2 separate regions of the Homo sapiens genome follow, and region 2 is linked to region 1. Evidence: promoter capture Hi-C in human tissues and cell types (Jung and others, 2019). All regions are on one chromosome and are shown on one strand. Each heading gives the region's core, a stretch centred on a gene start or on the middle of the fragment in contact. The rest is flanking DNA. Distances are from core to core; before and after follow the strand shown. Region 1 holds the start of ZBTB34 (zinc finger and BTB domain containing 34). Region 2 overlaps MAPKAP1 (MAPK associated protein 1).

The links. The method cuts DNA at HindIII sites, captures the fragments that hold promoters and counts their contacts. A contact is called where the count stands out against the background at its distance.
Region 2: a fragment that was not itself captured here is called in contact with the fragment with the promoter of ZBTB34 in region 1 in 1 of the 25 tissues and cell types used here (dorsolateral prefrontal cortex).

What each region holds. Positions count from the first base shown.
Region 1 is chr9:126,858,469-126,864,583 of GRCh38, forward strand. ZBTB34 (zinc finger and BTB domain containing 34) reads left to right here and starts at 2,171. Exons shown (of 2, transcript NM_001099270.4): 1 at 2,171-2,271. RefSeq lists silencers at 1,790-2,189, 2,220-2,299, 2,310-2,359, 2,470-2,689 and an enhancer at 2,314-3,111. The HindIII fragment of the contact is 9,457 bases long and covers 1-5,668 here.
Region 2 is chr9:125,489,107-125,495,221 of GRCh38, forward strand. All of the region lies in intron 8 of MAPKAP1 (MAPK associated protein 1), which reads right to left. Among named protein-coding and RNA genes, the nearest start is that of MAPKAP1, 220 kb to the right of the region's middle. RefSeq lists an enhancer at 5,906-6,115. The HindIII fragment of the contact is 6,822 bases long and covers 1-5,847 here.

The DNA of each region.
Region 1 (6,115 bases), core at 921-3,420:
TGAATTGGATCATTTCATAAATGCTGCTGAGGAAAATGGGTAAGTGTGGAATAAATTAAAATGAGACTTGTACATCACTCCCTAGACTTCTTGATTTCAAGGGAGCTAACGAGTTAAATCATTTAAAACTGCCACAAAGATTATGGGAAAACAGAAACACATATGCACCTCAACTGTGGAGGAGTGACAGTTTTTTAACTAAAATTAGTAGAGACCATGACAATCAGCTAAACAACAAGAACGAAAAAAGCAAGGGGCTGGAAAAATATATAAATGATGAGTTTGGTGACCCAGTTAGGTGGGAGAGTAAATATAAACTATGAGGGAAATACCCAGCATCCAATGGACAGACAGAGGGCCAACAACTTTGAGACACTTGGCAGAGGAGGGTCAAAAACTCAGGAACTATTTTAGTCTTTATAGTACTTAATGATATGCAAATATTGTGTCACAGCCAAGAAGACCCTAACTCTTATCAACGAATTTAGCAAAAATCAGTTAAAATGATGAGGCCCAAGGCTGATCTGTAGGAAAACCTCTGGGCATAAGAATCAGCTCAGCAGTCCGGAGGAAACCTGACAAGATGATGTATTCCTGTGCCCTGGGTGCACACGTATCTCACCCTTGGGGACAGATCTCAAGAAAACAACTCAAGTGCAATAGCAATTCAAGAGCGAGACTACCTGTCTGCCCAGGTGCCTGCAGTTATAGGCAGGTTGCCTAAAATCCTATGCTTGGATGTTCTGTTGCTATAAGAAGTCAGAGAGACAAGGGAGTTCATCCCAAGTCTGCCATTTACTAGCTGTGTGACTTTGGATAAGTCACTCAACCTCTCTGAGCCTCAGTTCCCTCTTGGATTAAAATGGGAATAGATCGCCACCTCCTTAGGTTGTGTTAAATGAGGTCATGGCTGTCAAGTGTCTACACAGTGCCCTGCATGGAGTGTTTGACAAAGGGTAGCTGTTGCTATTGGAGGATGACCACTGGACAGATCCTGGAGAGACAGTTCCTGCTTGCAAAGGATGAAGTAACATCAGGAAGTCTCAGCAGCTTTCTATCCTGAAGAGGAGCTGGTATCTTTGCCTCCTAGTTTATTTTTATTACAAAGCCAGAAAAAGGAAAATAAACCTCTGCCACAACTACTGACTCCACCAAAATGCAAAGGGAAGCTCTTCAAAGAGTGTTACATTGGTCTAATGCTGGGAGGAAAACGCTGGGTGAGGCTCCCACTCCCACCCAACGGTTTGAAGACTGGGGTGTCCCCAAGGGTCTGGAAATGCACATTTTTTGAGGCATGCTCTGTGACATGGGTTTTATAACAGTGAGTTGGGAATTTTCACCTCCGTTTTGTTTTTGAGACAGGGTCTTGCTCTTTCACCACTGCTGAAGTACAGTGACACGATCATGGCTCATCGCAGCCTCGACCTCCCGGACTCAAGCGACCCTCCCACCTCAGCCTCCCCAATAGCTGGAACTACAGGCATGTGCCACCAAGCCTGGCTAAGTTTTAAAAATTTAAATGGGGCCTCCCTATGTTGCCCAGGCTGGTCTCAAACTCCTAGGATCAAGTGATCCTCCCGCCTCGCCCTCCCAAAGTGCTGGGATTACAGGCGGGAGCCACCTCCGTTTTGAGAGAGAGAAAACCTGCCCAAGGTGGTAAGTCAAGAGACCCCCTATGACAGGTCCCCAGAGCCCTGCTGCTAACCACTGCACCTTGCTGCCTTCAGCTGCCCTGCCAGGAGCAGCTCGGGTGCGTGGCATGCGCCTGAAGAGATGCAGGAGGGAGGGTCTTGGAAGGGAGGGCTGGGCTGGGGGCAGGCCCCCCAGTGCTGGGGGGGTCGAGGGTCCTGGGCTCTCTCCCACCCGTTCGATTCCGGGAGCCCCTGAAACGCGCCCCACTGCACCGCCCTTCTCCCGCCAGCAGGGGGCGCCGAGGAGAGCGCGGGCTGAAGGCAGAGCCGACGCCGCTTCCCGGAGTCGGGACTCCGGGGTCCAGACCAAGGCTGCCGCTAGCCCGCGGCGAGGCTCTGGGACGACAACCGGGCGGGACTCAGGACCCCGGGCCCTGGCTAGAGGTCCGCCGCGCAACGCCACCACCCGGGTTGGCGCCTGCCCGGAAGCGCGGGCGTCCAGGGGGCGGGGCCGGGAAGCGCTTCCGGGGGCGGGGGGCGCGGGCTGGGGCGGCAGCCGGAGCGGCGGGGACTGGCCTGGCGCCGGCGGCGGCGGAGGGGGCGCCGCGGGCGGGCGATGTGAGCGCGGCGCTCTGGACAGGTGAGGCACGCTGGCCGGGGGCGGCGAGCAGCGGGCTAGGCGCGGGCGGGGCAGGCGGGGCAGGCGGGGCGGGGGGCAGTCCCCGGGCCGCTGTCCGGCTCCCTCTGGGCGCGGCGGGGCGGGAGCCTCCGCGCCTGGTCAGTCCCGCGGGCAGGCGGCCGGCGCGGGCGGGAGCCGAGGCCGGGCGGGGTCCGGAGGCCCCGGGCACCTGCTGGGGTCAGGCGCGCGTCCCCGAGGGGCCAGCTGTGCTCGGTCCTGGAGTCCCGGCGCCGCTGGCCCGGCTGAGGGTCGCGCTCGGGCAGCTGCCCTGGGCTCCCAGCCTCCGCCCGGGGCGTCTCGGGATCCCCAGCTTCCGGGCCCCTAGCCCTGGGGGCGCTCCCTTTTGTACGGGGAGGGAGGGCAGATGGTTGAGTTCCCTGGAGAGCCGGCCGGGCCAGGGGTCGGCCCTTCGGGTGGCTGCCACGGAGCCGCTGCCTCACGCCACCGCCTTCCTCCAGGTAAACAGGCGGCGGCGACGGGTTGCGCTTGGCCCCAGACGTCTCCGTGGCCACTCGCGCTCAGTTGGTCCTGCCATTGCGGAGGGCTGGGCTGGGGCTGACCGGGGTTGTAAACAGTGCCCTTCTAGGCCAAGTGGCTGTGCTTTCAGGGCGGCACTCGTCTGGGAGTCTCTGTCTTGAGGCCTTCCGCAAGCCCCTTCCATGCTAGGACTCAGTTTCCCCATGTGATCATTGAGGGTTTCATTTAACTCTCTAAGAACCCTTCTGGCTCTGCCATTCCGTGTATGTCTCAAATTGGAAGGGCTGTCCCTGATTCAAGATACTGGGCAGTTTCGCTGAAGACTTTGTCAGTGTGGACTTTTTAAGCCACTTACTGCATTTTGTTTCAGACAGGCTTTAAAATGATTTCAAGAAGCGTTTTCTAAACCTCACCTTAATCCTCATTCATCCCTTGCTTTTGTCCCTAGTAGTAGTTAATCACATTCCGCCGAGTTTTTGCATGCAGAATTTTTTGTTGTTTATATTTGCCCATTTTCTCTTTGTTCCCTAGTCCAGGCCCTCTTTGCTTCACATCTGGATTATTGCAACAGCTTCTAAGCTGGTCGCTGACTCCAGAGGTTCCCCCCTCCCCCATCCTTCCTTTATGCTAAAGCCAAACTTACTATAGGAAGTCAAAAAATAGTTGAGTGCTTGCTTGCTTATTAAATGGCAAGATGCTGTTCCATGTGGTGGGAAAGTAGTAGAAGGCACACTTACAGTCTCCAGGCAGCTTTACACAGGGTGCTGAGACATTACTTATGAAAAGGTAATTTTGATGAGACAAGGCTGTGTGCTGTAGAATTAAGAAGGAGAGATGGAGGTCACTGTAGGCCGAGTGGTTAGGGAGGGTTTAGTGAGGGGCGGGATTTGAGCCGGGTGTTAAAGGATGAGTAGCATTCAGATAGGAAAAGAGGAATCAGGCCCAGTGATCCTATGGAGTTAGTGAATAGACCAGTCTCCTGGCAGAGAAGGGTTCATATAGGAGGGAAGTAGGAGGAGAGGTGGGCCGCGGCTAGTTCCTCAACTCAAACACTAGGTCAAAGTTGAAACTACTGAAGGCATTGGTGAAGAAGCTAGAGGCCAGGAGATCAGTTAAGAGGCCACGGCAGTTATACCACTGTTCAAAGCTGAGTAGTGGCCTCTTGCCTGCCACGGTATGTCCAGCCACCGCCCACCCTGTCTTTTCAAGACTCTCCGTGGTTTGGCCCCACCCCACCTACCTGAACCTTATTCTCTGCTTCTCCAAGTCTGTCCCCTGCAGAACTGAGTTAGTTACGGCTTCTTGGGTTTTGCTTCTGTTGTTCCCCCTTCTGAAGCACTGGCCTCCTTTTTCTTTTCTGTGCAAATTCTCCATTTCACTTCCTTCAAGCCCCTGCTGCAGATATACTTCCTCCAGAGGGTGTTCCCTGACTTCCCTGCCCCCATGGCTTTGTGGCACTCGGATTCAGCACTTGTTCCTTGGCTGTTGAACTTGTTCTTGTCCCAACTGGAGTGGGAGTTTTTTTAAGGGCATTGTGTCTTAATACTCCTCTCGGAGACCTTATAGTATCTAATACTGGGGCTGGACTTCTATAATAGGTACTCAAATACTTCCTGATTTTTGTTGGTAAACAACTTTTTGTTTTGTTTTGTAATTTGCCTTTTTTTTTTTTTAAGGAGAATCTGTTTTTATCAGCTTTCTGTGTCATAGATAAGTGATATGTAATGCTACCATTCAAGGTGGATGTTTTCAGCTTGCTCTCTTAGGGTGCAGAAAGCACAAAACGAATCTTTGAAACTTTGAAACGTTTCCCTCTGATCATGGGAAAAGGTAAAAGTCATGTGATTCTTCATTCGGAGGCTGTGGGGAAAGAACAGCAGCTTTGGAATCAGAGACCTGGGTTTGAATCCTAGCAAGTCTGCTTACCAGCTCTGTGAAGTTGAGCAATTTATCTAATGCCTCTGAGCCTCCGTTTCTTATTTGCAGTGTGGAGGATAATAAAATCCAATGAACTGTAAACGAAAATGGAACGAAGTAGAAAAATGTGCAGCACCTAGTAACTGCTTAGTACATTTTCATTATTGTTATTGTCATTATTGGGTGTACATTTATCAAGGTGGAGAAATGATAAGCTGCTGAACTGTGTACCTACTGAGTTTTGGATTTCTGCACCGCTGTGTCCCCCCACTTTTGCCTTCCATTTGAAGCACTTGTCTAAAATGTCAGTACCATGAATCTAGTTACGTTTTATTCCCGTTAATGTTCATGTTACTTTAGTTTAAATTCTGCTTAATGTTTTTCAAACTTCTTAATTGTGTCTATTTAATGTTTTGTAGCTGACAAACTGCTGAATTTAGCTTAGTGAAGGTCATCAACTGAACGCAGTTAAATTTCTAATGGTTATTTTCTGGTTGATGTTGATGGCAAGGAAAACCTCATGGAAGAATGCAAGTCAAGGTGAGCTTTTCTAATCCTTTTGTCATAAGAGGCAGGACTTAATGTATTTTCCAGGGCCAGTGCCCCTGAAATGCTAGCCAGCAGTAAGCAGATAAGATGCTGTGCCTTACTATTTTTTAGTTATTTGCCTTAAGAAAGCTTATTTTATCTGAAACAAATCCTCTCAATTAATGATTAAAATATGAAACATCTTTTTTCCTACTTCACTGACAGAAGTAAAAATAAGGGACATTTTGCAAAGAAATGACTGCAAACCACTTGAAGTACAACATATTGTGACCCCTTAATCATCACAGTGTCAGACCCAGCCTGACTTTGTCTGTGTGGTGGAACATCCTTAAATGAGAATTCTCTTTCTACTCGGAGTTGATCAGTAAGAATCCAGCACCAATAAAAATCCTGCATCTCACCAGTATGCCTGGATTAAAATCTTACTCTTATAAGAGATAAGAGTTCTGAGTCTGAGACTGACAAATCTAGGTCCAAATCCTGGCTCAGCCAGTCATTAGCTGAGTGACCTTGGGTAAGTTTCTCAGCCTCTCTGGGTTTGCTTCCTCGTCTGTAGAATGGGGATAACTGCAGCCTCTTAGTGTCGTCTAAGAGCTTACTTACCATACTGTACACAGTAGGAGCCTACTGACCGTTAGTCCTTGTCATTGCTAGTAAAATTAAAGAGGCCATTCCTCTCCTGCTTGGAAAGCTCAGAAGAAGCTTCTGATGATGTTTTGCATTGACTAAAAGACAAATCGCACCCTCTTGGAATTAGTGTATCTGAGCAGACCTGGAGAATGTTAACGCCTTGGTAGGAAATGTAACAGTTTGGATAAAAATGTTCTTTCAGGCTCACATGAATTAATGCAGTAAGAACTCT
Region 2 (6,115 bases), core at 1,187-3,686, 1.4 Mb before region 1:
TCAAGAGAAGACATTTTTAGCAACTCAAAGTGAAAAGCAGAGAGAACCAGAACATCTTAAAAATAAACATACTGAAAAAACAAAAACTACTCCCTGTTAATTTAACTGAAATATAACCCATTGGTATTTTGTTAAATTAGCAAATAAAAAGGTCACAAGCAATTAAATGAAACAAAAGCCACACTGTGTTCATCTACATTAATGCTGAACTGGGTCTCCTCGTGAATGACAAGATAAATTGTTATGGTGCCTTCAAAGACTTCACAATGTATTTTGTCAAAGTCGGGAGGGTTAATGTCTCTATAAGCCACGGATTACCATAATGTATTGTGTCAAAACGCTCAAGCTGCAATAACTCAAAGATGTATTGTGATAGATCAAATTTTGGGGTGGGGCCTAATAGTGACTTGAGCACCACAGCTCAAATGGACTGACAACAAGGCTCCAGAAGAATGACAATCACAATGTAGGAAGGTATGGAGGACAAGCAGAAAACCCAGGAGGAGAAGCAGCTTAAGTCTCGGGAATACAAAATCAGGAAAGGAGAACTGAGGAATGAGGCCTCACACCTGTCTTCAGTGAAGAATGGCAAGAAGAGGCCACGGCAGGCAAAGGGAAGCAGAGAGGAGTTGAGGAAGGAGGCAGGTGGAGTCTAGGGCCTGCAGCCAAGAAAGAAAGAGAAGGTGCTGGGAGGCAGCCTTGGGGATTAATAACATTAGAAAGAACATGGAATATAAGAGTACAGAGATAGAGATTCAAACTGTCACTCAAAGTGTCAAGACTGGGTCAAAACCTTGCCCAGGGTTCCACTGTTAGGAAAGGTGAAACCGGGACAGATCTGTTGGACTCTGGAGTCCACGTGCCTTCTCCTTTCCCTTCCCTCAAGTGGTTAAAGGCTGCTCCTGCCCTGCCTACCTCACCACACTCCTACAGCAACAGCACTGTAATAGACTGTTGAGTCGAATAACTGTAAATTCTAAATTAGTGGTTCTCAAAGTGCACACTGGGTCCTATGGTGGTGGTGGTGGTGGGGAATTCCCAAGTCCCCTTCAGGGTCCATAATTGCAATACTATTTTTATAACAACAGCAAGACATGACTTACTTTTTTCATGTCCATTCTCTTACAAGTGCACAAAGGAATAAAAAGCTTGGCTGGGCGCAGTAGCTCACACCTGTAATCCCACCATTTTGGGAGGCCGAGGTGGGTGGATCACCTGAGGTCAAGAGTTCGAGACCAGCCTGACCAACATGGTGAAACCCCGTTTCTACTAAAAATACAAAATCAGCTGGGTATGGTGGCATACGCCTGTAATCTTAGCTACTTGGGAGGCTGAGGCAGGAAAATCGCTTACACCCGGGAGGCAGAGGTTGCAGTGAACCAAGATTGCGCCACTGCACTCCAGCCTGGGCAACAAGAACGAAACTCTGTCTCAAAAAACAAAACAAAACAAAACAAACCAACAAAAAAACAACAACAAAATAGAAACTATCATTTGAGTTTTGGTATAGTAACAAAAATTAATACCCACAATTATCTGAAAAGGCTATTGAAATATTCTTCCCTTTTTCAACAACATATCTGTGTCAGGCCAAATTTTCTTCACATACTTTAACCAAAGCAATGTATTGCAGCGGACTGAATGCAGAGGCAGATATGAAAATCCAGGTGTCTTCTATAAGCCCAGACATTACAGAAACTTGCAATATAATAAAATAATGACACTCTTCTCATTAAAAATTTTAGGCCTGGCTAGGTGCAGTGGCTCACACCTGTAATCCCAGCACTTTGGGAGGCCAAGGTGGGCGGACCACTTGAGGTCAGGAATTTGAGACCACCCTGGCCAACATGGTGAAACCTCGTCTCTATAAAAATACAAAAAATTAGCTGAGGATGGCGGGGCATGCCTGTAATCTCAGCTACTCTGGAGGCTGAGGCAGGAGAATCGCTTGAAGCCAGTAGGCGGAGGCTGAAGTGAGAGCTGAGATTACACCACTGCACTCCAGCCTGGGCGACAGAGCAAGACTCCGTCTCAAAAAAAAAAAAAAAAAATTTAGGCCAGGTGCGGTGGCTTATGAATATAATTCCAGCACTTTGGGAGGCTGAGGTGGGTGGATTGCTTGAGTCTAGGAGTTTGAGACCACCCTGTGCAACACGGCAAAACTCTGACTCTACAAAAAATACAAAAATTAGCTGGGTTTGGTGGCTCATGCCTGTACTCCCAGCTACTGAGGATGAGGTGGGATGATCACTTGAGCCCAGGAGGTTGAGGCTACAGTGAGCTGTGATCACGCCACTGCACTCTAGCCTGGGTAACAGAGTGAGACCCTGTCTCAAAAAAATTTTTTTTAAAGAAATTATAGTTACTTTTCATAAAATTTGTCATTTGGGCCAGGCATGGTGGCTCACCCCTGTAATCCCGGCACTTCTGGAGGCCAAGGCAGGTGAATTACTTGAGTCCAGGAGTTTAAAACCAGCCTGGGCAACATGGCAAAACCCCATCTCTACAAAAAATACAAAAAAAAAGCAGCCAGGCTTAGTGGTGTGCTCCGATAGGCCCAGCTACTGGGGAAGCCGAGGTGGGAGGATCGCTTGAGCCTAGGAGGTGGAGGTTGCAGTGAGCTGTGATTGTACTACTGCATTCTAGCCTTGTGACAGAGACCCTATCTCAAAAAAAACCAAAAAAACAAAAAAAAACAAAAAAACATAAAACTGTCATTAACATTAATGAAATTACTGTTTTTCAATAAATATTTTAAAATTAATCAATTTTTAATAGATGTAACTCAATAAACAAAAGCTTGGCCAGGTGCAGTGCCTCACACCTGTAATACCAGCAGTTTGGGAAGCCAAAGCGGGAGCACTGTTTGAGGCCAGGAGTTGAAGAGCAGCCTGAGCAACATAGTGAGACTTTATCTCTACTGAAAGTTAAAAAAAAAAAAAAAAAAGTCAGCTGGGCATGGTGGTGCACACCTGTAGTCCCAGCTGCTCGGGAGGTAGAGATGAGAGGATCACTTGAGCCCAGGAGTTTGAGGCTACAGTGAGCTGATTTGCCACTGCACTCCATCCTGGGCGAGACCTGGCGACAGGGCAATACCTCGCCTCAAAATAACAAAACAAAACAAAAGCTCTTTGGGTCTTCAATAACTTTTAAGAGTATAAAGAGGTCCTAAAACCAAAAAGTTTGAGAACTGCTGACTTTATTGGTTATAATGCCATGTTTTCATTGCCCCTGATATCTATTTGGACAATAATAATGGGAAACGAAAGTGCAGTTATAGCTGTGTATATGTGTTATAATCTGACAACAAACACAGCTGCAAAGCCTGTACACACATAAAAGCAATAGGTTTACTTTCAGGTGATCAGACCAAGGCTAATTATAAATACTGTTTTATAGTTTTAAAAGTGTTTTCATAGATGTGATTTAATTGGAACTGAGGGAGACACTTAGAGTTATATGACTTTATTTCAAACAAATAGGACTAATCATTAAATCATAGCTCAGATGAACTCACCGTATATTACTGGAAGATTCCTTGTACTCATAGATACAAACTGCATGGGACTTTAACATTCATTTTATGGTTCAAGGAGTCTTACACCAAGTCTAAAAGGCCCCAATCTAGTTATAAATTAAAGCAACTTCAGTGTCTCTTCTCTAAAAAGATCTATGCCAACTCTAGAACTCAACTGGAAGATCAGTGGCCTCTGTTATATCCTCACCTTTGTCCATAGCACAATCCTGTTGACTGTTTCTTCTAGACTAGCAGTTACTTAGCTCCAGCCATATGCCAGGTGCTGTGCTAGTGCTTCCGGAATTTAGGGGGATGGCAGTGTTCCCAGATGATGAAAGGAGGACAGGCAATCCATGGAGGAATATAGGAAAAAACATAAAGTCCACAAAGCATGAGGACCTACACAGGGAACACCAAGTGTTTGCCTTTGGCACAGTGTGTGAAGCGGAATGGTGGAAAAGAAAATGGTGGGGGTGGGAGTAGTTCTTCAAAAGTGGAGCAGTATCTAGCTCAGCACCTGGCACACAATTAAGTAAAATAGTACAAGTGACTGACAATGAGAAGTACATAAACCCTTCTCTGCTCCACTCTATCTTGAAGTCTTATTGCTACTCCCCACGCAGAAGCCCTGCTTCAGCTAAACTGGACTCTGCTCAGGTTCTACCATTTGGTCAGAATGTCCTTTATGCTCTAAAATTTATATGCTTCAAGGTCTAGTCCAAATGGAACCTCCCCTGTCTCTCTCCTAAAGCATTATAGCCCTTTATTGAAGGTTCTTCTGGTAAGTATCTTACATGGTAAGTATTTGCACTCCCCTCCAGACAAGGAGCCTGAGGGCAGGAACATCCCATTCTACAAAGCACATGGTCACACAGTAGATGTTCAATAAATGCTGCTGATGGAACAAGTGAAGTGTGATGCAACACAGGTTAACCATTAACAGCACCTGAGGTTTGTACACCACCCCTTGTATTTACCTTGGCTAACAGCACCTAACATACCTTTCCTCGTTTTCCATTCAGACTCCCCAACAGACTAGGTTTGTCAAGGACAGGGGTTCTGCCTCAACAACTGTGACGGTGGCTAACACACACTAAGTGCTTAACGCATGCCAGCACGATGCTCAGCATTTTAAAGACGTCATCTCATTCCATTTTTCCCAATGCCTCTTTAAGTTGGATATTATCCTCTTTTTACAGGTGAGAAAAATGAGACTCAGAATGTCATTCTGCTACAGTAGTCATACAAACAGTACAAGCTGGAGCTAGGAACTGAACCCAGGTCTAATTCCAAAATTGCACCTTTAACCACCACACAACCTCTGTGAGTAAAAATGTTCCTCAGATGGGCTGGAAATGCATAACTCCATGGGCTGTAATGGTATCTAAGGAGAACACAGTCACGCCTGGCCATGCCAGAGCAAAGGAATCAGGGATAAAACCTAACTCTCCACTCCCTCGGTAAGACTTAAAGCTGGATGCATAAGTGAGTCACAGAGAAAACTCTTCCTTAGCGCTCTGCATCCATCACATTTTTTTTTCCAGAGGCCTTTTAAGTCCCCAAAGCCCCATAAGCCCAAAACTTCTCTTCTATTAAACACTTCCCTTTGGCTACTAGTTATTTTTGCTGGTCTCTAAAAAACAATCAATAGGTGATATACTAAAACACACACACACGTTCATGCCCCCCGCCTGCCCACCGCTCTGCAGTAATCTCTTTAAAGCCATCGGGATCACGCAGTAGGATATACCCTTCACTAGAATCTGCCATGCTACCACCGGGGTAGGGATCTTTGCTGTCAGTGCTTAATTGATTAAACTCTTGGAGCCAGAGCCAGCCAGGCTGGAGGACTTTCCACATGGAGATTTCAGACCCCCTTCAATAAATCAAGGTAATCTTGTTTTATGAGGTAGTCAGAAAGAAACAGTTTCAGGTTTGTAGAATTTCGAAAAAGAGCAGATCATGGAAGCGGGGCCTACGAGGCTCTGCATCTTAGACCCTTGCTATCCCTCAGTCTCATCTTTCAGCACACTCTCCCTCATTCCATTCCATTTATTCATTCCTAAACACCCCAAGCTCCTTCTCATCTCAAAGCCTTCAGATGAGCAGTCCCTTGGCCTGGAACATTCTTCTCTTACTCATTATTGGACTAACTCCTTTTTCTTCTTACTCAAGCCTCTCATTCTTCTCACCTGCTCTGGTCCCCTGCTATGCACTCTTTTCTACCCTTCACAGCACTGATCACAATTGTGTGCTCTATAACGTGGGGCTAAGTCTCAGCACAGTGGCTGGCCCAGAGGAGGGCTCAATCAATGTTTGGGGAATGCATGAACAAATATGTGCCCAAAGTGAATCCAATACCCTTTACAGGATGAAGCATGACCACTTAAGGGTCTGGACCAATGGTTCATTATGGGTTTGCTTGGAAGTTAGATTAGTGACAGAATTCTCATTATTTCCTCTTTCTCCAATATGTCTTTGTCCATGTTCAAAGCCCAGGAAAAGTAATGGGGTCTTCTCAGGAGCATGGCATTTTTGACAATTTACATGGCAAAATATCTAAGAACTGTAACATCTGATCAACACCAAGGTGTCCCT